7 separate regions of the Homo sapiens genome follow, and all the other regions are linked to region 5. Evidence: promoter capture Hi-C in 16 types of primary human blood cells and fetal thymus (Javierre and others, 2016). All regions are on one chromosome and are shown on one strand. Each heading gives the region's core, a stretch centred on a gene start or on the middle of the fragment in contact. The rest is flanking DNA. Distances are from core to core; before and after follow the strand shown. Region 1 has its middle 27 kb from the start of NDUFB6. Region 2 has its middle 9.5 kb from the start of NDUFB6. Region 3 has its middle 74 kb from the start of APTX. Region 4 has its middle 31 kb from the start of APTX. Region 5 holds the start of TMEM215 (transmembrane protein 215). Region 6 overlaps APTX (aprataxin). Region 7 has its middle 50 kb from the start of APTX.

The links. Contacts are between HindIII fragments. The CHiCAGO score rates a contact against its expected background, and 5 or more counts as called.
Region 1: a fragment that was not itself captured here is called in contact with the fragment with the promoter of TMEM215 in region 5 in 2 of 17 cell types (M2 macrophages and M0 macrophages); the score reaches 10.2 in M2 macrophages.
Region 2: a fragment that was not itself captured here is called in contact with the fragment with the promoter of TMEM215 in region 5 in 1 of 17 cell types (M2 macrophages); the score reaches 11.1 in M2 macrophages.
Region 3: a fragment that was not itself captured here is called in contact with the fragment with the promoter of TMEM215 in region 5 in 2 of 17 cell types (M0 macrophages and M2 macrophages); the score reaches 5.4 in M0 macrophages.
Region 4: a fragment that was not itself captured here is called in contact with the fragment with the promoter of TMEM215 in region 5 in 2 of 17 cell types (M2 macrophages and M0 macrophages); the score reaches 10.2 in M2 macrophages.
Region 6: a contact is called between a fragment that was not itself captured here and the fragment with the promoter of TMEM215 in region 5, in 1 of 17 cell types (M2 macrophages). The highest score is 7.4, in M2 macrophages.
Region 7: a contact is called between a fragment that was not itself captured here and the fragment with the promoter of TMEM215 in region 5, in 2 of 17 cell types (M2 macrophages and M0 macrophages). The highest score is 11.8, in M2 macrophages.

The regions. Positions count from the first base shown.
Region 1 is chr9:32,597,899-32,601,800 of GRCh38, reverse strand. No RefSeq gene overlaps it. Among named protein-coding and RNA genes, the nearest start is that of NDUFB6, 27 kb to the right of the region's middle. The HindIII fragment of the contact is 2,527 bases long and covers 409-2,935 here.
Region 2 is chr9:32,580,931-32,584,355 of GRCh38, reverse strand. No RefSeq gene overlaps it. Among named protein-coding and RNA genes, the nearest start is that of NDUFB6, 9.5 kb to the right of the region's middle. The HindIII fragment of the contact is 7,368 bases long and covers 1-3,425 here.
Region 3 is chr9:32,925,879-32,929,402 of GRCh38, reverse strand. It overlaps the pseudogene BOLA3P4. Among named protein-coding and RNA genes, the nearest start is that of APTX, 74 kb to the left of the region's middle. The HindIII fragment of the contact is 2,288 bases long and covers 180-2,467 here.
Region 4 is chr9:32,968,512-32,972,480 of GRCh38, reverse strand. No RefSeq gene overlaps it. Among named protein-coding and RNA genes, the nearest start is that of APTX, 31 kb to the left of the region's middle. The HindIII fragment of the contact is 1,637 bases long and covers 1,629-3,265 here.
Region 5 is chr9:32,781,246-32,784,822 of GRCh38, reverse strand. It overlaps TMEM215 (transmembrane protein 215), which reads right to left and starts at 1,283. Exons shown (of 2, transcript NM_212558.3): 1 at 1,018-1,283; 2 at 1-697. The coding sequence starts at 639. LOC105376017 (a long non-coding RNA gene) reads left to right here and starts at 1,917. Exons shown (of 7, transcript XR_929559.2): 1 at 1,917-2,180. The HindIII fragment of the contact is 4,873 bases long and covers 1-3,577 here.
Region 6 is chr9:32,985,499-32,989,470 of GRCh38, reverse strand. It overlaps APTX (aprataxin), which reads left to right. Exons shown (of 8, transcript NM_001195248.2): 3 at 1,342-1,388; 4 at 1,625-1,927; 5 at 3,441-3,500. Among named protein-coding and RNA genes, the nearest start is that of APTX, 14 kb to the left of the region's middle. The HindIII fragment of the contact is 2,055 bases long and covers 1,264-3,318 here.
Region 7 is chr9:32,949,811-32,953,442 of GRCh38, reverse strand. No RefSeq gene overlaps it. Among named protein-coding and RNA genes, the nearest start is that of APTX, 50 kb to the left of the region's middle. The HindIII fragment of the contact is 8,010 bases long and covers 1-3,632 here.

The DNA.
Region 1 (3,902 bases), core at 423-2,922, 180 kb after region 5:
TTTGTTACCCCAACTGCTTCTTTAGGAGGGTGAATTTTGTTACTGTAGAGTATCTTGTTTTGCAGAGCATCATGATGTCCTGGGGTCTGTAAGTTTATGAATTGAGGGAAGTGGCTAAATTGCTTGCGTAAGAAAGGGAAGGAAAAAAAATGAAAATGAAGGCAGGAGTTGGGGGTAGGATGATCAAGAATCTAGGGGAGAGAATTAAGCAGTGAAATCTGGGAGGATTCAGGGATAAAAATCCCTAGAGAGGATAAACCAGGAAGGGATTTGTGGAGGTACAAATATAGAATGTCAGTTTTTACCTTGTTTTCTTCAGGTTGTATGATATAGCTACCCTTCCTGTCCCCTCCTTCTCCTCCAGGACCCACAGAGTCTTCAGGGAAATTAACATTGCTCACTGAAGCTTTTCTGTGGCTGGATTTGGTGGAGAGCAGCAGGACTAGGAGAGGTGCTGAGTTCTGCATCCAGGTTGATGCAGTGAGGCTGAGCAGTGTGAGCAGATGCGGGAATCAGAGGACACAGGGGAGGTGACATCTGGCTTTTGGGTAGATTTCCACAGGTCTGATCATGCTCTGTATTTGCCATCTGCCAAACTTTATTGAGGAAGTCTTAAGGTCTGGGTAGATATGAAATCTCTCAGCTTGTAGAATTTCAACTACTCTTTCCATAGTGGCAGAAAAGTAGAAGTGAAGACAGTACCAGGACCATGTATCTTCTAGAGACTTAATATACCCCTGCTCTGCCTGCTTCCACCCCACCCCCATCAATGTCAGACATAAGCCATGTCTGTTCTGCACATTGGTTCAAGGTCTCCAACCAAAAGTGTTGGAGTTCGCTCTTTGAGTTCCCTTCCTACCAGTAGCCTGGCTCAGTCCTCGCAAGAAAGATGCTGTTCTGTTTCCTTAGACATCCAACTGTATAACTCTTAATTCCCTGGGGGAGCTTCCTCTTCTGTTTGCTTCTGAGTCTTAATTACTTCCCATCTCCCTTAGCAGCAGTGTTCTTATACCCTAGCCACCACCTCTCCCAGAATATTCTGTGTTGCCTTAGACCTCTTCTGCTGGTCACCATCAAAATACTCCTTCCTTCCTTCTCCACCTAGACAATCACTCATAGTTTCAAATTTCATCACAAAATTTGCTACTCTGATGTGCTCAGGAAGCTCAATTAAGGAATCAGTGTTCAGTTGCAGGCCTTGCCCTTTCATCTCTGTATACTTCTTTCCTAGGTAGTGCCATTCACAACTTGGCTTCCGTTATTGACAGGCATATGACCACAAATTTATATCACCCACACAGATTTTTCTTCCAAATTCTAGTCTCATATATCCAACTACCTATTTGATGTTCCCTATTTTAAATGTTCAAGAGCTCCCTTAATCTTCTTAAAAATTATGATGTAAGTACTTTTATTATTCTTATTTTGAAAACTAGAAAGCTGATGCTCAGAAAATTAAAATATGTTTTGTGTGTAAGTTCACACAACTGATTAATATTTGATGGAATCTGAACACAGGACTCGCTGCCCTCAAACCTTATTCTTTTATCTGGCATGTCATTACTGCCTTTGAAATATTTATATCAGGGAAACTGAGATCACTTGCTTGACATAATAATAATAATAAAAGTATTATCATCGAGAAATGAAAACAATTGATTTGAATAGGAATAAGACAACATGCTGATAATTTCAAAACTTTCAGCATGATAACAAAATTTTAGGACTGAGTTTCCTTCTTCACTACATGATATCAATAATTCTAAATTTGCTGTATTTGTATACATAAAGTGCCTGGCACAAACTTGGGATCTTTAAAAAATTTTTTTTTAATTTTTAATTTTTGTGGGTACATAGTAGATGTACATATTTATGGGATACATGAGATGTTTTGATACAGGCATACACTGTGAAATAACCACATTACGGAGAATGGAGTATCCATCCCCTCAGGTATTTATCCTTTGTGTTACAAACAATCCAATTACACTGTATTAGTTGTTTTAACGTGTACAAGTAAGTTGCTATTGACTATAGTCGCCCTGTTGGGCTATCAAATACTGGGTCTTATGCATTCTTTCCAACTTTTTTGTACCCATTAATCTCCTCCTTAGCACTCACCCCCCCACTACCCTTCCCCGCCTCTGGTAACCATCCTTCTACTCTCTCTGTCCTTGAGTTCAATTGTTTTGATTTTTAGGTCCCACAAATAAGTGAGATATTCATGAGATATTCATCTTTCTGTTCCTAGCTTATTTCACTTAACATAATGACCTCCAGTTCCATCCATGTTGTTGCAAATGACAGGCTCTCATTCTTTTTTATGGCTCAAGGACTTCATTGTGGATATGTACCACATTTTCCTTATCCATTCATCTGTTGATGGACATTTAGATTGCTTCCAAATCTTAGCTATTGTAAAAGCTGCAACAAACATACGAGTGCAGATATCTCTTCAATATGCTGATTTCCTTTCTTGTGGGTATATACCCAGCAGTGAGTTTGCTGGAGCGTATGGTAGTTCTATTTTTGGTTTTTGAGGAACTTCCACACTGTTCTCCATAGTAGTTGTACTAATTTACATTCCCATCAATAGCTTATAAGGGTTCCCTTTTTTCCACATTTTCACTAGCATTTGTTATTGCGTGTCTTTTGGATACAAGCCATTTTAACTGGGGTGAGATGATATCTCATTGTTGTTTTGATTTGCATTTCTCTGATGATCAATGATGTTGAACACTTTTTCATATGCCTGTTTGCCATTGTATGTCTTTTGAGAAATGTCTATTCAAATCTTTTACCTGATTCTTTTTATCAGATTATTTAGATTTTTTCCTATAGAGTTGTTGTCAGATGGATGGTTTGCAAATATTCTCTCACATTCTGTGGATTGTCTCTTCACTTTGTGGATTGTTTCCTTTTCTGTGCAGAAGCTTTTCAACTTTATGTGATCCCATTTGTCCATTTTTGCTTTGGTTGCCTGTGCTTGTGGGGTATTGCTCAAGAAATTTTTGCCCAGACCAAAAGTTCTGGAGATTTTCCCCAATGTTTCCGTGTAATAGTTTCATAGTATGAGGTCTTAGATTTAAGGCTTTAATCCATTTTGATTTTTTTTTTAGATGGTGAGAGATAGGGGTCTAGTTTCCTTCTTCTGCTATGGATATCCAGTTTTCCCAGCACCCCTTATTGAAGAGATTGTCTTTTTTTCCAGCATATGTTCTTGGCAACTTTGTTGAAAATGAGTTTGCTGTAGATGTGTGGATTTGTTTCTGGGTTCTCTATTCTGTTCCACTGGTGTATGTGTCTGTTTTTATGTCAGCACCACGCTGTTTTGGTTACTATAGCTCTGTAGTATAATTTGAAGTCAGGTAATGTGATTCCTCCAGTTTTGCTCTCTTTGCTTAGGATAGCTTTGGTTATTCTGGGTCTTTTGTGGTTCCATATAAATTTTAGAATTTTGTTTTCTATTTCTGTGAAGAATGTCATTGGTATTTTGATAGGAATTACATTAATCTATAGATTGCTTTTGGGTAGTATGGACATTTTAACAATCCATGAACATGAAATATTTTCAATGTTTTTGGTGTCCTCTTCAATTTCTTTCATCAGTGTCTTGTAGTTTTTATTTTAGAAGTCTTTCACTTCTTTGGTTAATTCCTAGGTATTTAATTTTATATGTGACTATTGTAAATGGGATTACTTTTTGTTTCTGTTTTAGATTCTTTACCGTTGGCATATAGAATTGCTACTGATATTTGTATGTTGATTTTGTATCCTGCAACTTTACTGAATTTGTTGATCACTTCTAGTGGTTTTCTTGTGAAATCTTTAGGTTTTTCGAAATATATGATTATGTCATCTACAAACAAGGATAATTTGACTTCTAGGATAAGTTCTTGAAG
Region 2 (3,425 bases), core at 908-3,407, 200 kb after region 5:
TAATGTCTCACCACAGAAAATTAGTAAGTGATGGATATATTAATTAGCTTGATTTAATCATTCTACAGTGTATTCAAAACATTATATTGTACCCCATAAATATATATACTTATTACTATTATTATTTTCTAGAGACAGGGTGTCACTATATTGCCCAGGCTCGTCTCAAATTCCTGACCTCAAGCAATCCTCCTGCCTTGGCCTCCCAAAGTGCTGGGATTACAAGCGTAAGCCACCATGCCCTGCCACATATATAATGATTATCTGTCAACTAAAAATAATACTAACAATGTGTTTTGAAAAAAATATTAGATCCTACAAAGTTAGTTGTCATTCTAGTCCCTAAAAGGCAGTGCAGCTGAGCTTTTGATTATATGCCTACTCTGGTTTTCTTTAGTTTATTCCCTGTTGATTATTAATAACTTTATAGAAAAAATAAACTTATATGATGTTATAACAGTGTTTTTCAAAGTTAAATAATATAATAATCCCTTTTAGAGGAGCAAAAAATTATTGCATATCTCCAGTGTTAAATTATTTTTATTCCTTTAAGTGTTCATAATCATCAAATTACATATACACTCAGTGTATAGTTTGTTTCAACTATAAAACTGAAATTAATTTTCAAGTTAAGTGCAAACAAAAGCATAAAACTAATAAAATTCAAGGAATAATGTTTTCATAAAACAAAAACAATGGTATGGGTTGAATAGTGGAAAGATGCATTTGGAGATTTTATGCTTCATTGTGTATTGCATTGACTTTGAACACACTGGAACATTATTTGAGTCACGGGCATTTTTCTATTTTTCCTTTTAAATAATGACAATCATTTGAACCAATTCATTGTTTTGAAGAGCTGATCTGCTTCATAGCACCCTCCAAGTTGCGATAGTAATAAAATATTAGAACAATTAAAAGTCATAATAAATGCTTTTCCATTTGGCCTATTTATTACCTCACCTACTAAAGGAAGTGTCATGTGAAGTGTGCTACGAGGTGACTGTCTTCACTACCTCCCTACATCTGAACGACTATGAAACCTTTATTCATATAAAGTGCCAGAACATTACAGGGCCTCCTCTTGGCTCCCACATAATTGTAAACACTCATACGGTTTGGGTATTTGGTTATAAGGTGGTTATCCAAGTGATCTAGAATATACTCACGCCAGAGTTTTAAAATCATCATTGAAATGAAAACACAAAGTTCAGAAACTTTTGCAGAGAACTCGAGGGCTCCTGTGTTACAAAGTTAGTGATTTTAATCAGTTGCTCTTTCCTTTGTTTTGTTTTGCTTTTGTTTCTGAGACGGAGTCTAGCTGTCGCCCAGGCTGGAGTGCAGTGGCGCGATCTCGGCTCACTGCCAGCTCCGCCTCCCGGGTTCACGCCATTCTCCTGCCTCAGCCTCCCGAGTAGCTGGGACTACAGGCGCCCACCACCACGCCCGGCTAATTTTTTTGTATTTTTAGTAGAGATGGGGTTTCACCGTGTTAGCCAGGATGGTCTCGATTTCTTAACCTCGTGATCCGCCCCCCTCGGCCTCCCAAAGTGCTGGGATTACAGGCGTGAGCCACTGCGCCGGGCCAATCAGTTGCTCTTTCTGAAGAGAGTTTCACTGGCACCGCACCACTTGCCACTGAGAGCGCTGGGGTCCAACTAGAAGTCAAATTTGAGCAAATGAATATTGTTTTAGACTACTAAATGTTTAAGACGTCAGACAAGTGATTCTGCTCTACTAATATCAGAAGGATAAGAAGACAGTGGTAGTCAAGCCCATTGTGCTCCCCAGATGGAAACTAATATTCAACTAAAGGTGCAGCTCAAAACTCCGTCTCTGGTACACTGTGTGTGACCGTCTGCCCTATAAGTAGCAAACTCCACCATGAATTGCTGATGCCATTAGTTTCTGTGTATCTCCAAAACACTGACCAGAAAATTCCACAGTAGGGATTTGTAAGAGAATGCCCTCGCTTGTGCATCTTCACAGATTTTTCTGATCAACATGAGCAAGTTTGCCTCCTTGTCCCCTTGAAAATAATAATGTCTTGTGTGGTTGGGTGAAGCTATATATATATATATTTTTTGTTTTGTTTTGTTTTGTTTTGTTTTTGCTAAAAAAAGAATCTTACAGGGAGATAAAGGGATTTCTGGAGGAATTAATTTTTTTTTCAATTATGTGGGACAAATGGTGCTTAAAATGAAGATAGGACAAAGGCTCTTAAATTTTTGACTGAACAATGGAAAGGGAACTTGGATGTGGAACTCCCATCTCCATTCCTGGTTGCAGACTCAGTCTGACGGGGAGGTCTTGCACTCAAAGCTGTCTTCTCTCCACAGCCTCTGAAATCCACGGCCTGTGTGCCCCAATTAGTACACTCTGCCAGGGGACAAATGAAGCACCCTACTGGCTTTTAAAAACATAGCTGGAGGTGTAGACCCTTATTAGACAGATCCAAAGTTTAAGACATAACCTTACTGACAGAAGACACCTCCTCATCTTATTTCCTGGCCCCATCTCTTCCCTGCCCACTGTGCTTTAGCTCCTTTGAGTTTTGTGGGCTGGTTACTGAGGCCTTAGATAAAATGCAATTTACCTGTATTTCTAATTTTTCAGCAAGTTAGAGTGCCCTCTGGTGGGAATGTCTCCAGTAGTTACCCAGGTCTTGCAGACTATCTGAATTTGTGAGTCCACATTTTCTGCTTGTGCTAAGCTGAACACGGTCTCTCACTGCTCCCTTTTTATTCAACTCAGCCTCATGAGTTTCACAGCCAGAGATAAGTGAGAAAGGATGGAAATGTGGTCATCAGTAGCCAGTGGTATATTTTTCTAAGCAATATTGATTTTATTTATGTTTATTTTCAAATGTGGTAGTGGTGGGGAGTGGGGAGGATGTAGTAATTTCCCAGAGTAAGCCAGAATGATGGTTCCAAATTCAAGAAATACTAAATGTATTTAACTCCACTCGCAAAGGAAACATTTGGGTTATCAAATGACTCATTGTGTAACTAAGTGTCCTGTTTTTAAAAGTTTTTCTCTCTCTCTTTCCTGCCCGTTCCTTGTCTTGCCTTTAACAATGAGATAATAGTCTTTGCTCTCACTCTTTCTCCCAGGCACCCCTTTGCACAGTGTTTCCCTTATCTAATTACGTGTTTGTTTAGAAGTTCCAGAGACTAAATCTTAAAGCAATTCAGTCTACTGTGGGATTCTCCCCCACCTGGAGATTACTTCAAGGCTGCAGTTAATTTGCAACCTGGCTGTCCCAGAGATGGCACTAGCCCACACACCAGATGGGGCAACAGCTCAAGATAGTCATCAGAACAAGTCACATAGGCTGACCCCTATCACCACTCCTGCATGCCCATCATACCAAACTCCCCTTTAGCCTTTACCCTTGACCTAGAAAGCTGAAACGGTTTCTTTAA
Region 3 (3,524 bases), core at 74-2,573, 140 kb before region 5:
CGTTCTTCATATGTTAGATCGTCAGTCTGTTTTCGGTATCTATTTTCTTTCTCATAATTTTATCTCTGTTCTATTTCTTTAGCTTTCTGGGAAAGCATCTCAAATTTGTCCAAACATTATTGATTTAATTTTTTGCCGTTTTGATTCTACTCTGCATTTCTTCCAGTTTTCTGTAAGCTTTTGTCATCACATATCTGGTATCACAACATTCTTCCTGCTCTCATTTTAGGCTGTCTGGCTCTTAGCCAGACTCTTTTCCGACTCAGGCGGCTGCCTTAACACCTTGTCCCAGACATGTCCATATGGGCCTGCCCTGCTCACAGCCCTTAAGAGGACCCTGGAGGGGCAAGCCCAGCACACCAGAGGCATCTCTCTCCTGCACTGGCTTTGGCTGATGGGACCAGGGATGTACATTTGAACTCAAGAGGCTTCATCTTTCACAAATTTGAAAAAAGCGACAGAGAGGAAAGTAGGCAAGTTGTTTAGGCACTAATATTTTATTGAATTCACTTTTTAAAAAAAACTTAGTGAATATGCGAAACATATGTACAGTGAATACTCAGGTATGCATGCAATATCACACTTAAAACTCTCTGTTCCTTGCCTGAATTTTGACTCTGGACCCCATCTTGTTAGATTGGTGGGAATTCACTTAATTTTTTTAATGGACTTTCTCATTCCAGGTTGGTAAAAAGGAGGTCTCACACATCTTTAGGACATTGGGGTGGAAGCCCCAGGCATTGGTTCTCAGTCTGTTCTGATTATTACTGAGCCGTCTTGCACCGCACCTTCCGGTCCTAGGTCTGCTGTTTCTGTGCCAGGCATGGCGTGTGCAGCATTTTGGCATAACTGGGAACCTCTCAGCGATTCCTCTTGGAGGGCTTACATCTCCAGGCTTCGCCAGTGAGAGGGCTGTGGTCTTATCTACTTGTAGGCTTCTGGGAATCTTTTCTTGGTTTTAGGGAATATACTCATGTTCCTTCTTATTCCCTCAGAGACTCTTTTCTCCCTCAGGACATTTGGCAAATCTCCAACCGCTTTAGGTTTTGGAGCCAACAATCAGGAAGGGAAGCATTGCAGCAGCTTCTGCTTTCTGCCCTGCCGTAAACCTCCACAAGGAAGGAAGCACAGAGCCTGTTACTGCTTGAGAGAGAAAAAGATAAGAAGGAAACAGGTTGGGCAGGGCGTGGTAGCTCATACCTGTAATCCCGGCACTTTGAGAGGCTGAGGAGGGAGGATTGCTAGAGTTCAGGAGTTCAAGACCAGCCTAGACAATGTAGTGAGCCCCTGTCTTAAAAAAAAAAAAAAAAGATGAAAAGAAAAGGAGGAAACACAAATTTATATTATGTAATGTTATGCTAATGTATTGCTTCTGGATTTCTATGTTTTACATTAAAAAAAAAACAGATCCCACTATATAGTTACTATTGTTTCTTTTTTGAGACGGAGTTTTGTCCTTGTTGCCTGGGCTGGAGTGCAATGGCACGATCTCTGCTCACCGCAACCTCCGCCTCCCGGGTTCAAGCAATTCTCCTACCTCAGCCTCTGGAGTAGCTGGGATTATAGCTGGGATTATGTGCACCACCAGGCCTGGCCAAGTTTTTGTATTTTTTTTTTTTTTTTTTTTTTGAGACGTAGTCTCGCTCTGTCGCCCAGGCTGGAGTGCAGTGGCGCAATCTCGGCTCACTGCAAGCTCCGCCTCCCAGGTTCACGCCATTCTCCTGCCTCAGCCTCCCGAGTAGCTGGGACTACAGGCGCCCGCCACCACGCCCGGCTAATTTTTTGTATTTTTAGTAGAGACGGGGTTTCACCATGTTAGCCAGGATGGTCTCGATCTCCTGACCTTGTGATCCACCCGCCTCTGCCTCCCAAAGTGCTGGGATTACAGGCTTGAGCCACCGCGCCCGGCCAGTTTTTGTATTTTTAGTAGAGACGGGGTTTCTCCATGTTGGTCAAGCTGGTCTTGAACTCCCGACCTCAGGTGATCCACCCGCCTCAGCCTCCCAGAGTGCTGGGATTACAGGTGTGAGCCACCGTGCCCGGCTATTGTTTGTTTTTATTCAAACTTGATCTATGAGATTCTATCCAAGATGGTGTTGTAAGGATATTTCTTGGGTATTCTCACTTCTAGATGCTTTTAGGATCTCCCTCCTAACTGGAGCTGGAGGCTGGTTCCTTGCTCAGCGATGGCACAGCCTGAGAGAAATGTGTAGGCTGTTAAGCCTTGGTCAGGCCTGGTGGGACATATGGCACAACCGTCTTCGTTTGAGGAAATGACTGTGCTGGGAGTCAGACTTGCTGCCGCCGGGCTTTTTCCTCACGCTCCTGCCAGCTTTTTCAGGGAAGGAAATGCCCTGTGTCCTGCCCAGCCTCTTCTGGACATTGCTGTTGCTGTCTCGGGGCTGAGCCTTGCTGCACTGGGAAGATGTGCCTCCTGCTTCCACTGCTGCTGCTCTGGTTTGAAGCTTATGCCCTGGGCCCCCAGCCCTCCTACCTTCTTAGGCCCTTAGATCCACTGCTCTAAAGTTCCTCCGAGAGAGTGGATGTTGAGGGGATTCAGGTTCTCCTCTAAGTCCTTCCCACCAGACACACTAATTTTCTATGAGACGTCAGTTGGACATTGGCTTTTGTCCCCTTTCTTCATTTTGGCTACCAATATCATTATCTCTAGAATAATTTTTTGGCTCATGGATGGTACCTTTCCTTAATTTCTAGCACCAATGAGATTTGTCCCAGTTTTACATTTCCTTAGTCATTTCAGACACCTATGCTCAGATCTCCATCTGTTTTTTGAGTTGAACATCTTTTCCCACCTCTCTCCTCCACCAGTTGTCTGTTGCCTTTAATTAACCTCTAAATAGATAACACATTCTTCTTTAATTGTAGTATGGAAATGTCTACGAACAAAACAGATACTTTTTTTTTTTTTTTTTTTTTGCAAATGCGTAGGAAAGAGTGGTTCCAGTCAAGTTCATCCGAAGTTTTAGGCAGCTGCATCTACACAGCCCCGGGGGCATGGAGGTCAGTGTCTGGGGACAGAGGTAAATACCCACCATCTGTGCATCCCTTTGATTTTCCTTTTTTAGTGCCTGATTAATCATCTGGTGCTGAGGGACAGTTCTTGTTTCTTTAAATTCTTCTGGTTTGATTTGGATTTTATACATCACCTACAGCCTCCTGAAATGTCAGTGACTTGGATAGCTGTAGCTCCAGAAAACTTCTCTTTGAGAATTTGGGTCCCTTTGAGCTCCCCGTCAGTCTGGGAGGCAAACATTCAATGAACACAGTGCAGAAGAGGAAGCCTGCAGATCCTGCGTGGAGAGGAGCTACAAGGGCAGGGTTCCACATCTCTGTGTCTGACTGATGTAGCCCGCCGCCCTAGGCCACTGGGCCACCTGAAAGCTGAGCATCCTTTTTAAAAGAATTTTTGGACCTTTTATTTTGAAATAATTTTAGACTTAAAGAAAAGTTGCAAAAATTAAATGGAGTTCCTTTATACCCTTCACCCTGCTACCCCTGTTAAC
Region 4 (3,969 bases), core at 1,198-3,697, 190 kb before region 5:
CTTAACAAAAGCTTCTTCTGGAGAGAAAAAGCCACAGTCCATAGAGACATTTGACCTCAATGTCTTTCACAAACAAACAAGATGCCACAGTGGTTACTTAGTGAACATAGGTATAGTAATAATTATATAATTAATGATCATAGCAGCTCACATTTGTCTGACTCCTGTGTGTCCTGCATTATGCTAAACACTGTACTCAAGTGATCTCATTGAATTCTCACTGTACATAACTCTATGAGGTTACGTGCTATTGTTATGCCCCTTTAGTGGATGAGCATCTAATATTCTACAATGGTTCCTGGGCACTATCCAAAGTTGGTATTGATTCTGATGCATCAACTCATTATTTTTCTTATCAATTGAACAGTATAAATGCAAGACTAACAGCAGAAGCCATAGAACCCAGGGGCCTTGGACCTGTGCTGATCAAAAGCTTTCCGTGGCATTTCATTGATTTCCCTGAGATCAGCCAGTTCCTTTAGCCCTTTTTGTCCATCTCTCATTCCCAACATCTTTCATCTCTTTTCTCTGCTCCTTCTGCACTCCAGGATTGTAATCCTTAGGTCATTAGTCCATCCATCCATAGTTCTTCTATCTGGCTTGATGCTGGACCTTTGGGCCTGCTTGATTGTCTGCTTCGTCTCCTGAGGTGGTTGTCTACATACACTGTGGCTCCTGGACGTTCTTCCCCAACCCAGCTGCAGAGGGCATGTGGCTTCATAGCCTTTTATTTGCTGTCATCAGGTACCAGGCACAGAAACTCTTGAAAATTGTCTGGGCACGGTGGCTCACGCCTGTAATCTCAGCACTTTGGGAGGCCGAGGCGGGCAGATCACAAGGTCAGGAGATCGAGACCATCCTGGCTAACATGGTGAAACACCGCCTCTACTAAAAATACAAAAAAAAAATTAGCCGGGCATGGTGGCGGGCACCTGTAGTCCCAGCTACTTGTGAGGCTGAGGCAGGAGAATGGTGTGAACCCAGGAGGCGGAGCTTGCAGTGAGCCGAGATTGTGCCACTGCACTCCAGCCTGGGTGACAGAGTGAGACCCCATCTCAAAAAAAAAAAAAAAAAAAAAAAAAAAATCATGGGCATATTAGTTAAAAACAGGCTCTGGATTCAGACCTGGGTTCCAGTCCTGGCTCTGCTACTCACAGCTGAGGGATCTTGGGCAAGTTACTTATTTTCTCTGAACTTTGGAATTCACATATGTAAATGAGCATAACAGAGTTGAGTTATAAGGATTAAATAATCTATGTAAAGGGTTTAGCATAGTATCTTGCATAGAGAAAGACTCAATAAATGGTAACTGGAAGCCTCTGCTTTTATCTCAGTGGAGGCTGGGAAAGAGGAATTCACCTTATCCATGCCTCTCTCTGCATCTGAAGCCTTACTGCCCCTGGAAACTTTCTAAATATGTACTCCATGGACTCCTTAGATCAGAATTACTGGTTTCCCTTTAAAAAAATGTAAGCACTTGGGCTTTACCAAATAATTACTGAATCACAATCCTGAGGGCCTAAGAATCTTCATTTTAAACCATTCAGGATGAACTTGATTTTATTGATGTTTGAGAACCACAATATAAATGAACCTTTGGCTTCAAAGCACCTTGCATTTCTGAAGCTTATGGATTTGGCTGTTCCCTGCCAGGACACAAATAGCATTTTCTGGTTAGCTGCCTGGGCCTGTCATAGGTCTGCCTTCCCTCTGCTGTGTCAGGGTTATTTCAGAGTCTGGGGAGACCTCCGGCATTAGCTGAAGGGGAGTCCCTCGTTACAGGGATCAGCCCTTCCTTTCTTCAGGAGTTTGGCAGAGCTCCTTTGGCCCCAGGCTCTTAGGAGCCATGTCTGGAGATGACTTCCCCTCAGTTGCTCCCGTTCCCTCTTCATGCCCAGAGATCAGTCCAGTGGCTTGGTCTGGGACCTGTAATGAACGCTGCCAGCCTTAGGCTCAGAGCGTAAGTATTTTTCCTTCTCTGGGCCTGTCTCTGAGATACCCAGGTACAAATGGTCCTTGTAGGGACTAGATCATACTTGAGATGGTAGTTAAGGATGTCTTTAGATTCAGGGATATTTTCTAGAGCCTGGCATCTGATAGTCACACAGACTGGACATGGCTGGATATCAGAGAGTTAGGACTCATCTGTCAGTGTTGGCCTAAATGCTTCCCTCTGCTTCCAACAACTCCAACTTGGAGGGAGACTTTCGCAGGGCTCTGAAGATTCTACCATAGACTAATTTTTAAAAATGTGATGAAAGCCGTGAAACCTCTTCAGCATAATGAATATTTACACATTTTGTATATGTTATCAGGGAATTTATGGAGCCACTGACGTGCTTCCATAGGGTCTGTGGACCCCAGTTTAAGAATCTCAAGAGAAAAGGGTCATTACCATGCATCTGGGATATACAGGAGGGGTCTCAGGTCACTGTGGAGGACTGGCGCCCACCACCATGCCTGGCTAATTTTTATATTTTTAATAGAGATGAGGTTTCACCATGTTGGCCAAGCTGGTCTCAAACTCCTGAGCTCAAGTGATCTTCCCACCTCAGCCTCTCAAAGTGCTGGGATTACAGGCGTGAGCCACTGCGCCAGGCTTTTTTTTTTTTTTTTTTAAATATTTTACCAACCAAGAAGAAGCATTGTAGTTCTGGCAGCCACAAGTTGAAAGCTGACACAACCCACTGCCCCCACCCCCAACTAGTACTGTTTGACATTTATTGGAGGAAAAAAACTATCATTTATTCACATTGAAGAATTAGTTACTGGCCAAAGACCTTTTGTAGAATCTTCTCCAGAAACTGTGGGAGGTCCTCCTAGAATGCTAGTTGGAGTTGCCAGGGTCCAGAGGCACCTCCATGTCCTGGGTCACCAGACCACCAGCCTTTGCGGCTCTTTCCCCAGCTGCATTCTGGAGGTAGGAAGCTGGGCCCAGGGCAGAGAAGGGGGCATCTGGGGATGTCTGAAGAGCCAGTTGAGCAGCTGAATCACAGGCATTCTCTAGGTTACAAATACATTGCTCAGAGACTAGGACTGCTTTCGAGAACCCACAAAGTGGAAGATGTTCATGACAAAGCAAGAGGGTCAATAGGTCAAATACTAAAATGTGTTCCCTCCAGCTGGCCAGGCATTAGGAAAGAGACCCAAGATGTGGGAGGGAGGCCCCAATAGGTATCTGAATCCCCCACATCCCCGCAGTAGCTCAAAGCCTCTATGTCCCCTTTATGTGAATGAGAAAAGGCATGCCCTGCAAGCAGAAGCTTTTAGCTCACACTCACTTGAGACTGAGGGCCACATAGGGTGCAACCGTACGTACAATCTTACGGTGTGGGGTCCCTGTTTCTCATGAGGTTCTCTAGGAAAGGTAGTTTTTTTGGTTCTCCATCATGTACCCAACGAAATTAAAAGAATATGGAACAAAACAGCCTTGCAATAAAATTTCGTTGAGTGAATGACACCTGTGTCAATACACTTGGAATGGATGTAGAAAAGATAACTTTTTCTGTTACATCTGAATTTGATTGGCAAGCATGTTGTCCAGTGAGTCTGCATCTTTGCCCTTAGAAACAGTTATTTTTATTTTTTAAATCCCTTTTTTTCACAGGTGTTGATCTTTAATTTTTTTTATTTAAACATTTTTTCTTGCCTTCTTCATTTTTCCTTCATATGACTTTGGAAACATTCTGATAAACATCTTACTGCCATTGTTTATGGGAAAAAAGTATATCTTACAGGTTAGAATTAGTGGAACATAAGCATGTTAATATTTTTCCACAGAATTTTCCAAATCTTTGCTAACAAAGCAAGTGATTAGGGAAACTGGGGTTTTCCGTATCTTTTCTGTGAATGGTCTATTTTCGGGGCTTGCCATGTTTGGCCACCAGATGGCAGCATTTGAACAATAAATTTTTAATTGTCTTCCACAAGACAAAGCTGTTTTTGAAGCCCTTTTATAAAGTATCTTAT
Region 5 (3,577 bases), core at 34-2,533:
GCTGTTCTGCTTGTAGGAGCAAACGATGATACTGTCCTGGGGCACAAAGAAGATGCTATCCTCAGGCTCAGGGCACTCAGATCTGTCCCTTGCTGAGCACTTGACGTCCAAGGCACTGTAGGTGAGGGAACTGCCCGAGGGGCAGTAGCCGTCCAGGTATCTGGACGTCTCCTCCTGATGCCCATTCTGGACGAGGCTCTGGCATTCTCCTTCCTCCGTGGGTGTGGGGCTGTTGATGGAGCTGGCCACGGACACCTCACCCTGGCTTTGTGGGGGAGGCTTCCCCCTGAGGCCCGCCTTCTTAGCCAGCTCATCTGAGCTCCCCTTGCCGGATTCTAGGTCTGAAGGGGTCCTCAGCAGCTCTACCACCTCCTTGTCTTTGGGTTTCCGGAAGCAGGGCAATTTGCGGACCCACAGCAGCTCGTTCTCTGGCCACTTGGTGCATCCCTCGGTTTTCCTGGCCAGGGCAATGGCTGCGATGCCTGGTAGGCAGATGGCTGGCCCGATGGCCAGGAGGGGGATGTTTCCCAAAGTCTCCCCTTTCATCCCAGAGACGGTGAACATGAAACCAAAGACGAGGAAGACACTGACCAGGGCCACCACCAGCCCAGTCCTCGGGTTAATGTCATCAGGCCGCATGTTTCACTCCATCCAGGTTGGGGGCTGCTTGCTGACCAGGGAGCAGCGTTCCTCTATTCTGTCAGAGATGAAACCACAGTGCGTTAAAAAAAAATCCAAGTCAAGCTCCCACCCATCAACTCTTGTCTTTCTCTTGCCCTTTGTCTCCGACTTGCTTCTTGACTTTCAGTCTTGATCTCTGTCTCTGTATCTCTCTTGCAATCTCTCTATCTCTCTCTCTGCGTTTCTCTTGCAATCTCTCCCTGTTTCTATTTCTACTCTTTCTCTCCGTCCCCTCTCCCTCCCTCCCTTTCTTGTGCCCTCCCTCTCTTCCTCTCACTATTGCAACCTCCGTCTCTCTCTCATATCAACACGCTCCGGCTGGGGTCAACGAGGTACCTGAGGTTTCCTGCCCTCTCCAGGAAGTAGGGAAAGAAGCCAGGCTGTCTCCTCAGAAGCCCCCACAGCAGCTGCCCCCTCGGCTCGCTCCCTTGGTTCTGGGAGGAAAGCCTGGTTTCCCCCACGGACTCTGCATCGGGGAGGTGGAACCTGGGAGAGCGGCTCTCCCAGCAGTGCCCGTCGGTCCCGGTGCTGTGCAAGCGGAGCCCGGCGCCAGCTCAGCGCGCAGAGCGCGGGGCGCGGGAGGAGGAGGGAGCACTGAGTCTGGGAAAGAGGGGACGCGGCGCGAGCCTGGCCTTGTTACATCACTGTCAGAGCAGGCTCAGAAACGCAGACAGACGCGCGGGGGCGCGAGGGGGTCAGCCCCAGAGGGAGGCCACCCGGCGGCAGGCGCTGCCCGGGGTCTCGTCGGGGCTGCTGGGAGCGGCCGGGGTTTGTGCCGCCGCCGTTCCGGAGGCTGAGCAGGGCGACCTGACCCGCTTCCGTGCCCGGGAAGGGTCTGGGGCGCGAGGCTGCCAGTGGCCGGAGTCGGAAACCAGGGTCGGTTTGCCCACGGGGCAGCCGTTGCAATATCCGAGCTCGGGCTCCCAGTCCGGGATCCGAGGAGTTAGGTGCCAGCTGGAGATGTCCCTCCGGGACCCGCACCCTTCTCCAGTTACAAATCCGGGTGACTGACGGCAGGCCCAGGGGCTCCCCGACCGCCCTTCTCTCAACCCCTCGACTCGGGGCGCGGGGGGGTGTGTGTCCCTCGGGGAGCCGGTGCCCGAGGACTGCTTTGGTCCCGGCTCTGGGCGGTGGCGGCGCGCGAAAGCGCTCTTGCAGCGGAGCGACTGCGCCGCGGGAGCGCACAGAACCAGCGCCCAGGCGGAGTGGGTTAGTGGTGAGGGGTGGGTGCCAGGCTAGTCCGGGCCTTGGGGGAGTCCCCGGAGTCCCCGTGGCTTTCCAGCTCCAGGCTCGGGAGAGGGTGACCTTGGAGCCGGGATTTCACTTCTACAGCGCTGTGGTGCCGGGGGGACAGGGAGAAGGGCTCCCTGGCCCCCAGTTCACGAGGAGAAGGGGCCTTGACCGGTCAGGACCACCACCCTACGACGCCGCTCAGCTCTGGGCGATTCTCTCCTCCCTTGCTGAAGCAGGCATTGAGAGCCTGCGTTCCTCCCGCTCTGGTAGGCAGGGGCAGATGGATTCCTCTGGCCCCGGGGGGCAAGACTGGCTTTGGCTGTGATTCTTCAACAGGGCTGCCCATTTAGGATAGAGGAGGGCGGTGGAGAACAGGTTGATGAGCGGTACATGCTTTCATGTCAAGACACTGATTTACTGGAAAGAATTTTCACATCCAGGCCTTCCCCAGTTAAACTAGCTGTATATTCCTGGGCAAGTGACTTAACCTCTCTGAGAATCAGTCGTCCTATCTGTAAAATGAGATTAATACCAAATATATGAGGAAACATTGTGAGGATTAAATAAACGTAAAGTTCCTAGCACAATGCTTGGTACATAGTCTGTGTACAAAAATTACACACACATGCACACACGTACACATGTATATGTATATATATTTGTCATCATAATTAGTGTCTTCATCATGTATGACAGGAGCCAAACAAATCATAAAGGCTGTGAGACTAAGGACTTTTTATCCACTAGGCAATGAAGAACGCTTGATGTATTTTAAGCAAAGATCAATACAAAAACATTCCAGTTTGACTGAAAGGGGCGGCAGGTGAGAGCATAGGTTGGAGCTGGTAAGTCTGGAAGCCGGGAGTCTTGTTCAGTAAGCTGAGAAGTTCAGTAAGCCGGGCAAGACATGATGTGGCCTTAACAATGTCGGGCTGGTAGAGGAGTTGGAAGGAAGCAGATCTGAGGGTATTTAAGGGTTGAGTGAAGTGTCTTGGAGCACAGTGAAGTGAGATGAAGGGAGGAGCCAAGGTCAACTCCCAACTTTCTCACTTTCAAAGGGGTGGATCAGGAAGCAGATCCTTCTCATTTTCCTCTCCATCATCTATTTTGTATCTTTTGTACTCATGACCATTAGACAGCTGCTGCACCTTTAGGCATAGAATCATTTAGGAGGGAAGAAAGGAGAAAATGCAAAGGGTAAAAGTGAGGTGCCAGTTCTTTGGCCACTTGTATGAGGACAATAATAATTTTCCTGGCAGCCCCCCCAAGTAGATAGGCATCTGCCTGTAATTGACCAGAGATGGATGAGCTTTGGGATACAAAGGTACCTGGGAAATTGTTGTTTATTTATTTACCAGATCCACTGATGGTCTGAAAAAAGGGTTTTGTTTAAAAGGAGCAGCATACTGCTCCTTTTAAATACTGGGGAAGCAGCTCGCTACGTGTGTTACAATTATTGAAAAGTTTTCCCTTCTTAAAACCGTTTCTTTTACTGACACCATTCTATCCTAGTTTTCTTCCTATCTCCCTGGTCACTTATTTGTAGGCTACTTTATAAACTCCTATTTTATTTATTTTTTATTTTAACAAACCCCTTAGATACTGATGTTCTGTGGGTTCTATTCTTGCTTCTCCCCTTTCTTGATTTCTCTTCTCTTTCTTC
Region 6 (3,972 bases), core at 1,042-3,541, 200 kb before region 5:
CAATGGGCAGCAAGATGTAAACTCTGGAGTCTACAGGTGAAACCATGTCTTTCTGAGAAGTAATGGGGTAGTGCCGTCCTTTACATATTGCTTCACGCAAAGTATTATGAGACAGTGGCATCTAGCACTTGTCTTAGGGTTTAATAACATGAAAGTCCTTGCCCTCAGAAAAAAATCCTTACCATGTACCTTGTTTTTTCCTGTAAACATGCACACTGCTGGCTGGAGTGTGACCCCCCCACAGCAAGGTTTCCCAAGGGTTCTGAACTTAGAGAGTTGGCATCTGCAGCACTGATTATGATCTTTCCTATATGAGTTAATCTAAGTGGAGGGATACAAAGCCATGCTTGAGCTGAGTAGGCCCAAGATGCAGAAGCAGTGGCTGCTTCTCTCTCTGTTCCCTTCCTCACAACAGCAACTGAAGGGGCATGTATGTGGCACCCTGTCCTCTCTGGGGAGCAGCTATGGTGGTTCTTCTTTCCTCCCTGTCTCAACTCCAGATACCTTGTTCATTTATCAGAACAGGAATGCTTAATGTTACCACTTCTCACACATGCTCAGATTGTTCTGTCTCTGCAATCATCTTTCTAGAACATTCTTTCCACTCCTTCTACCCAAAGCCACCTGAGTTTCTGTTTTCCAGGAATGTGTCTTTTACTGTTTTATCTTTTAAAGCATCTAATAGTTGTTGTTTTTCCAAAATAATAGTGGAAGCCTGATTTAATCCTTGGTCAAGAGTTCGTGTGAGAAATGGATCTTTTTTTTTTTTTTTTTTTTTTTTTTTCCTCCTGAGATAGGGTCTCACTCTGTTGCCCAGGCTGGAGTGTAGTGGTGCGATCTTGACTCACTGCAACCTCCACCTCCTGGGGCTCAAGTGATTCTCCCACCTCAGTCTCCCAAGTAGCTGGGACTACAGGCATGTGCCACCACACCTGGCTAATTTTTGTATTTTTTTGTAGAGACGGGGTATTGCCATGCTGCCCAGGCTGGGAGAAACAGGTCTTCTTTTCTGGCGGCAGAGTCTGTGATCATGAGCAGGCCAGGGGTTCTGGAATAGGGAAACTTGTGGGGATTAATTGAAGCTGCCTCATAGGGATCTTGGCAATAGCTAAGGGAGTATGTACGCTGTTGGACATTTTATGGAAGGATTTAAACCTTTAGAAATTGGTAGGATTTGGAGCTCCAGCCACCTGCAATAACAGGTGATTGCTAATAGGCCTTTAAGGAAACACCACCTGTTCAGCTGCCGCCTGTAGTGAAGCTTGTTTTCTTTAGGGAAGATAGGAGCAAGTGCCTGGTTCTTTGTTGCATTTGTGTTTAACTTTTTCCAATCTCTTTCAGTACAGTTGAAAGCAGAGTGTAACAAGGGATATGTCAAGGTAAAGCAGGTAGGTGTATTTATAACTTGGAATTTTATACTCGATGATTTTCTTATGCTGTTGACTTTAGAGTGTCTGTGCCAGCCAGTGAAGGCTTCTCTGTCATGTATGGAAGTGATGGAGTAATATAGGTGAACATAAGGCAAGGTGCTTGGCATATAGTAAGTGGTTAACATAGCAGTGGCTATCTTACTGTAGGTGCTGTTGCTATTATTATAATTATTTTCTGATTGTTTATTCCATAGGTAGGAGTCAATCCCACCAGCATTGACTCAGTCGTAATTGGGAAGGACCAAGAGGTGAAGCTGCAGCCTGGCCAGGTTCTCCACATGGTGAATGAACTTTATCCATATATTGTAGAGTTTGAGGAAGAGGCAAAGAACCCTGGCCTGGAAACACACAGGAAGAGAAAGAGATCAGGCAACAGTGATTCTATAGAAAGGGATGCTGCTCAGGAAGCTGAGGCTGGGACAGGGCTGGAACCTGGGAGCAACTCTGGCCAATGCTCTGTGCCCCTAAAGAAGGGAAAAGATGCACCTATCAAAAAGGTGAGGGTAGTGTGATTGGTAGATGATGTGGAGAAGAAATGAAATATAATGACTGCTTAATTGTTTTGTACACTTTAAAGTTCAGAAATGCGTGAGGGGTTATTAACCATGATGAAAGAGTCACTTGTTTGTGGCGTGAAAATCATTTGGATGAATGTTCCTTTATGTGCTTTTTTCTTAAATTCCTGAGGTAAGCCACCTGAAGGTACAACAATAATGGCAGTGTGTACTTAACATTGAACAACTAAAGTGGATCAGTTGTTTATGCATCTATAGAAGGTTTTCATAGATCATGTAATTCATATGCTGATGTCAAAGTGGAGAATTGGTCAGGCTGTAGCTGCAGTGAGAGAGGGCAAAGAAGGTATGACTCATACTCTGGCATTTCTCGCCTTCATTTAGAACAGCCAGCTGTGAATATAGGAAGGCTGGCTGGGTGCAGTGGTTCACGCCTGTAATCTCAGCGCTTTGGGAGGCCGAGGTGGGCAGATCACTTGAGGGTCAGGAGTTTGAGACCTGCCTGGCAAACATTGTGAAACTCCATGTCTACTAAAAATACAAAAATTAGCTGGGCCTGGTGGTACACACATGCTTGTAATCCCAGCTACTCGGGAGGCTGAGGCGGGAGGATTGCTTGAACCTGGAAGGCGGAGGTTGCAGTGAGCTGAGATTGCACCACTGCACTCCAGCCTGGGCGACAGAGCGAGACTCCATCTCAAAAAACAACAACAATAATAAAAAACAGCTGGGTGTGCTGGCTCACGCCTGTAATCCCAGCACTTTGGGAGGCCGAGATGGGCAGATCACCTGAGGTCAGGAGTTCGAGACCAGCCTGACCAACATGGCAAAACCTAATCTCTACTAAAAATACAAAATTAGCTGGGCGTGGTGGTGCATGCCTATAATCCCAGCAACTCCAGAGGCTGGGCAGGAGCATCGCTTGAACCCGGGAGGCAGAGGTTGCAGTGAGCCGAGATCACGCCATTGTACTCCAGCCTGGGCAACAAGAGCGAAACCCCATCTCAAAAAAAAAAAGAAAGAATATAGGGTCGGGTGTGGTGGCTCACGCCTGTAATCCCAGCACTTGGGGAGGTGGAGGCCAGTGGATCACCTGAGGTGAGGAGTTCAAGACCAGCATGGCCAACCTGGTGAAACTCCGTCTCTACTAAAAAATACAAAAGTTAGCTGGGCGTGGTGGTGGGCACCTGTAATCCCAGCTACTTGGGAGGCTGAGGCAGGAGAATCACTTCGGAGGTTGCAGTGATCACGCCGCTGCACTCCAGCTTGGGTGAGACAGAGTGAGACTTTGTCTCAAAAAAAAAGAGAATATAGGAAGGCAATGGAGTGAAGCAGAGTCAAGTGAATCTTGTTTAATTCTCAAAAACTAAGCTTATTTCCAAGTTTAGTTGTGCTATCACACAGTATTAACTGTTGCCAAATTTAATTATTGGCATTTGTAATTTACATTGCTTGTTTTTTTTTTTTTTTGTTTTTTTTTTTGTTTTTTTTTTAGGAATCCCTGGGCCACTGGAGTCAAGGCTTGAAGATTTCTATGCAGGACCCCAAAATGCAGGTCAGAATACAATTTTGGAATTTCAGTACATTTCATGTTGTAAATGACCACTCCACAGAGGTCTTAATTACAAATGAAATCAAAGGATATCAGTCTTTCTGAATGAGATTCATTTTATTGGGCTGTTCTGTGAGAACAAGAGGCTTTTCACATTGGCAATAAAGTAGCAGCTGTCATTGTTTGGAGAGAAAGCTGAGTTCTTCAAATGAATATCCCCTCTGCCTTGTGCCTTTTAAACTTCTGGGTACTTTAAGGGAAGTTGCATTAACCTTAGTATGGTTCCTTTCAGGGGAGCATCAGAGATAATACACTGTGACAGTAGTACTGTGCTGCCCTGGCATTAACAGTCAGACATCCCTGTAATCCCAGCACTTTGGGAGGCCGAGACGGGAGGATCACCTGAGGTCAGGAGTTCGAGATCAGCCTGACCAACATGGAGAAACCCTGTCTCTACTAAAAATACAAAAAATTA
Region 7 (3,632 bases), core at 698-3,197, 170 kb before region 5:
AATAAGGACATTTAGGAATCGAGCAATTCAGTAAACATTTGTGTGTGTGTGTGCACCCACGTGCATACATACACTTACGTGTAGAGGATCTAGAAAGATCTTTATATTCTTTGAATAGAGAAGATACACATTTCCCATATGATCATAGTACCTTTAAAATAGTTGATCCCATATTTGGCCACAAAGAAATTCTTTTTCTTTTCTTCCCCTGGAGATAGGGTCTCCCTCTGTCACCCAAGCTGGAGTGCAGTGTCACGATCATAGCTCACTGTAACTTCAAACTCCTGGACCCAAGCAATTCTCCCGCCTCAGCCTCCTGAGTAGCTAGGACTATAGGTGCATGGCACCATGTCCAGCTAATTTCAATTTTTAAATTTTTTGTCGAGATGAGGTCTCACTATGTTACCCAAGCTGGTCTCAAACTCCTACCCTAAAGTGATTCTGATCCTTCCCCACCCCACCAGCCTCCCAAAGTGTTGGGATTACAGGTTTGAGCCACCACACCTGGCCTAAGCAATTCTTGATACATTAAAAAATAGAAGAGGTATACCACAGGCCATGATATGGCTTGGATCTGTGTCCCCACCCAAATCTCATGTTGAATTGTAATCCCCAGTGTTGGCAGTAGGGCCTGGTGGGAGGTGGTTGGACATGGGGGCAGTTTCTCACGAATGGTTTAGCACCATTCCTCTAGTGCTGTTCTGCTGATAGAGTTACCATGAGATCTGGTTGTTTAAAAGTGTGTAACACCTCCCACCCTGCTCCTGCTCCAGCTGTGTAAGGCGTGCCTGTGTCCCCTTTACCTTCTGACATGATTGAAAGTTTCCTGAGGCCTCCCAAGAAGCTGAACAGGTGCCAGCATCATGTTTCCTTTACAGCCTGCAGAACTGGGAGCAAGTGAAGCCTCTTCTCTTTATAAATTACCCGGTCTCATGTAGTTCTTTTTTTTTTTTTTTTTTGGAGATGGAGTTTTCGTTCTTGTTGCCCAGGCTGTAGTGCAATGGCACAATCTCAGCTCACTGCAACCTCTGCCTCCCAGATTCAAGCGATTCTCCTGCCTCAGCCTCCCGAGTAGCTGGGATTACAGGGGCATGCCACCAGGCTGGCTAATTTTATTTATTTATTTATTTTTTGTATTTTTAGTAGAGACAGGGTTTCACCCATGTTGACCAGGCTGGTCTCGAACTCCTGACCTCAGGTGATCTGCCCACCTCGGCCTCCCAAAGTGCTGGGATTACAGGCATGAACCACTGCTCCCGACCATCAGGTAGTTCTTTATTAGCAGTGTGAGAATGGACTAATACAGGCCACAGTATTTGAACATAATTAAAATTATAAATTAATAATTTAAAAAGTATCTAAAAATCTTGACCATTTGGATGTGAAGAATTATACTGCCAGATAACTTTTGGATTATTACAGAAATCAATGCTGAACTTGCACGCTTAGTAATGTAAAGTCTAACATTTTATACAAGAATCTGTAGGATATAGCAAAAGCTATTTTCAGAATAAAGTAGATTGATTTAAATAGCTTTCATTGTACAGACAAGAGACTGAAGATAAACTCATCTTAAGAACTTAGAAAAAATATGTAAAAAATAAAGAGAAATTTAACCAAGAGAAATTAGGAAAAGGGAAGTTACAAAATTAAGGCCAAAATTAACAAAATAGAAAGCAAAAACTATGTACCAAAAGGTCATATAGGCCGGGCGCAGTGGCTCATGCTGGTAATTCTAGCACTTTGGGAGGCCAACGCGGGCGGATCACGAGGTCAGGAATTCCAGACTAGCCTGACCAACATGGTGAAACCTCGTCTGTACTAAAAATACAAAAATTAGCTGGGCGTGGTGGCACGCGCCTGTAATCCCAGCTACTCGAGAGGCCGAGGCAGGAGAATCGCTTGAACCCAGGAGGCGGAGGTTGCAGTGAGCTGAGATTGCGCCACTGCACTCCAGCTTGGGCAGAGCAAGACTCTGTCTCATAAAAAAAAAAAAAAAAGTTATTTAAATTCAGAAGTTGGTTTTTTTGAAAAGAGCAATAAAGTAAATAAACTCATCACTAACCAGGTTAAAGAAAAAAGAAAGCACAATTATATGATATTTTGAGTAAGAAAGAGACATAACTGAAGGGGGCCTGCCCCTCCACACGTGTGGGTATTTCTCGTCAGGTGGGACGAGAGACTGTGAAAAGAAATAGGACACAGAGACAAAGCATAGAGAAAGAACAGTGGGCCCAGGGGACCGGCACGCTCAGCATGCGAGGACCTGCACCGGCACTGGTCTCTGAGTTCCCTCAGTATTTATTGATCATTATTTTTACTGTCTTAGCAAGGCAAGTGTAGCAGGGCAACAGGTGAAGGTCAGCAGGGAAACATGTAAGCAAAGGAATCTGTATCATGAATAATTTCATGGAAAGGTACTGTGCCTGGATGTGCACATAGGCCACATTTATGTTTCACTTTACACAAACATCTCAGTGTAGCAAAGAGTAACAGAGCAGTATTGCTGCCAGCATATCTCGCCTCCAGCCACAGGGTGGTTTTCTCCTATCTCAGAATAGAACGAATGGGAATGGTCGGCTTTAAACCGAGACATTCCATTCCCAGGTATGCGCAGGAGACAGAAGCCTTCCTCTTATCCCAACTGCAAAGAGGCCTCCCTCTTTCACTACTCCTCCTCAGCACAGACCCTTCAGGGATGTCGGGCTGGGGGATGGTAAGGTCTTTCCCACAAGGCCATATCTCAGGCTGTCTCGGTTGGGGGAAACCTTGGACAATACCCAGGCTTTCTTGGGCAGAGGTCCCTGCGGCTTTCCGCAGTGCATTGTGTCCCTGGTTAATCGAGAATGGAGAATGGTGATGAATTTTACCAAGCATACTGCCTGCAAACATATTGTTAACAAGAAACATCCCGCACAGCCCTAAATCCGTTAAAGTTTGATTCAATACAGCACATGTTTCTGTGAGCACAGGGTTGGGGCTAAAGTTACAGGTTAACGGCATCTCAAAGCAAAACAATTTTTCTTCGTACAGATCAAAATGGAGTTTCTTATGTCTTCCTTTTCTACATAGACACAGTAACAATCTGATCTCTCTTTCTTTTCCCCACGCATAACCACAGAAATAGAAAAGGTTAAAAATGATTTAAAGAGAATGTTGGTTGGGCATAGTGGCTCACATCTGTAATCCCAACACTTGGTGAGGCTGAGGTGGGCAGATTGCTTCAGCCCAGGAGTTTGAGACCATCCTGGGCAACATAGGGAGAACCCCCATCTCTATAAAAAATTTAAAAATTAGCTGGGTTTAGATGGCATACACCTGTAGTCCCAGCTACTTGGGAGGCTGAGGTGGGAGGATTGCTTGAGCCCAGCAGGTCAAGGCTGCAGTGAGCTGTGATCACACCACTGCACTCCAGCCTGGGCAACAAAACTGTCTCAAAAAAAAAAAAAAAAAAAGAGAGAGAGAGAGTGTTAACTTGAACTCTAACTATTTGGAAATATTGAGGATTTCCTAGCAAAATATAAATGAATAAAAGTGACATAAAGAGAAGCTGAAAACTTGAACAGACTCATTACCATAAGAGGTTGGAGAAATGATTATAGCTCTATCCTTAAAAAAGAGCTGGTGCCAGG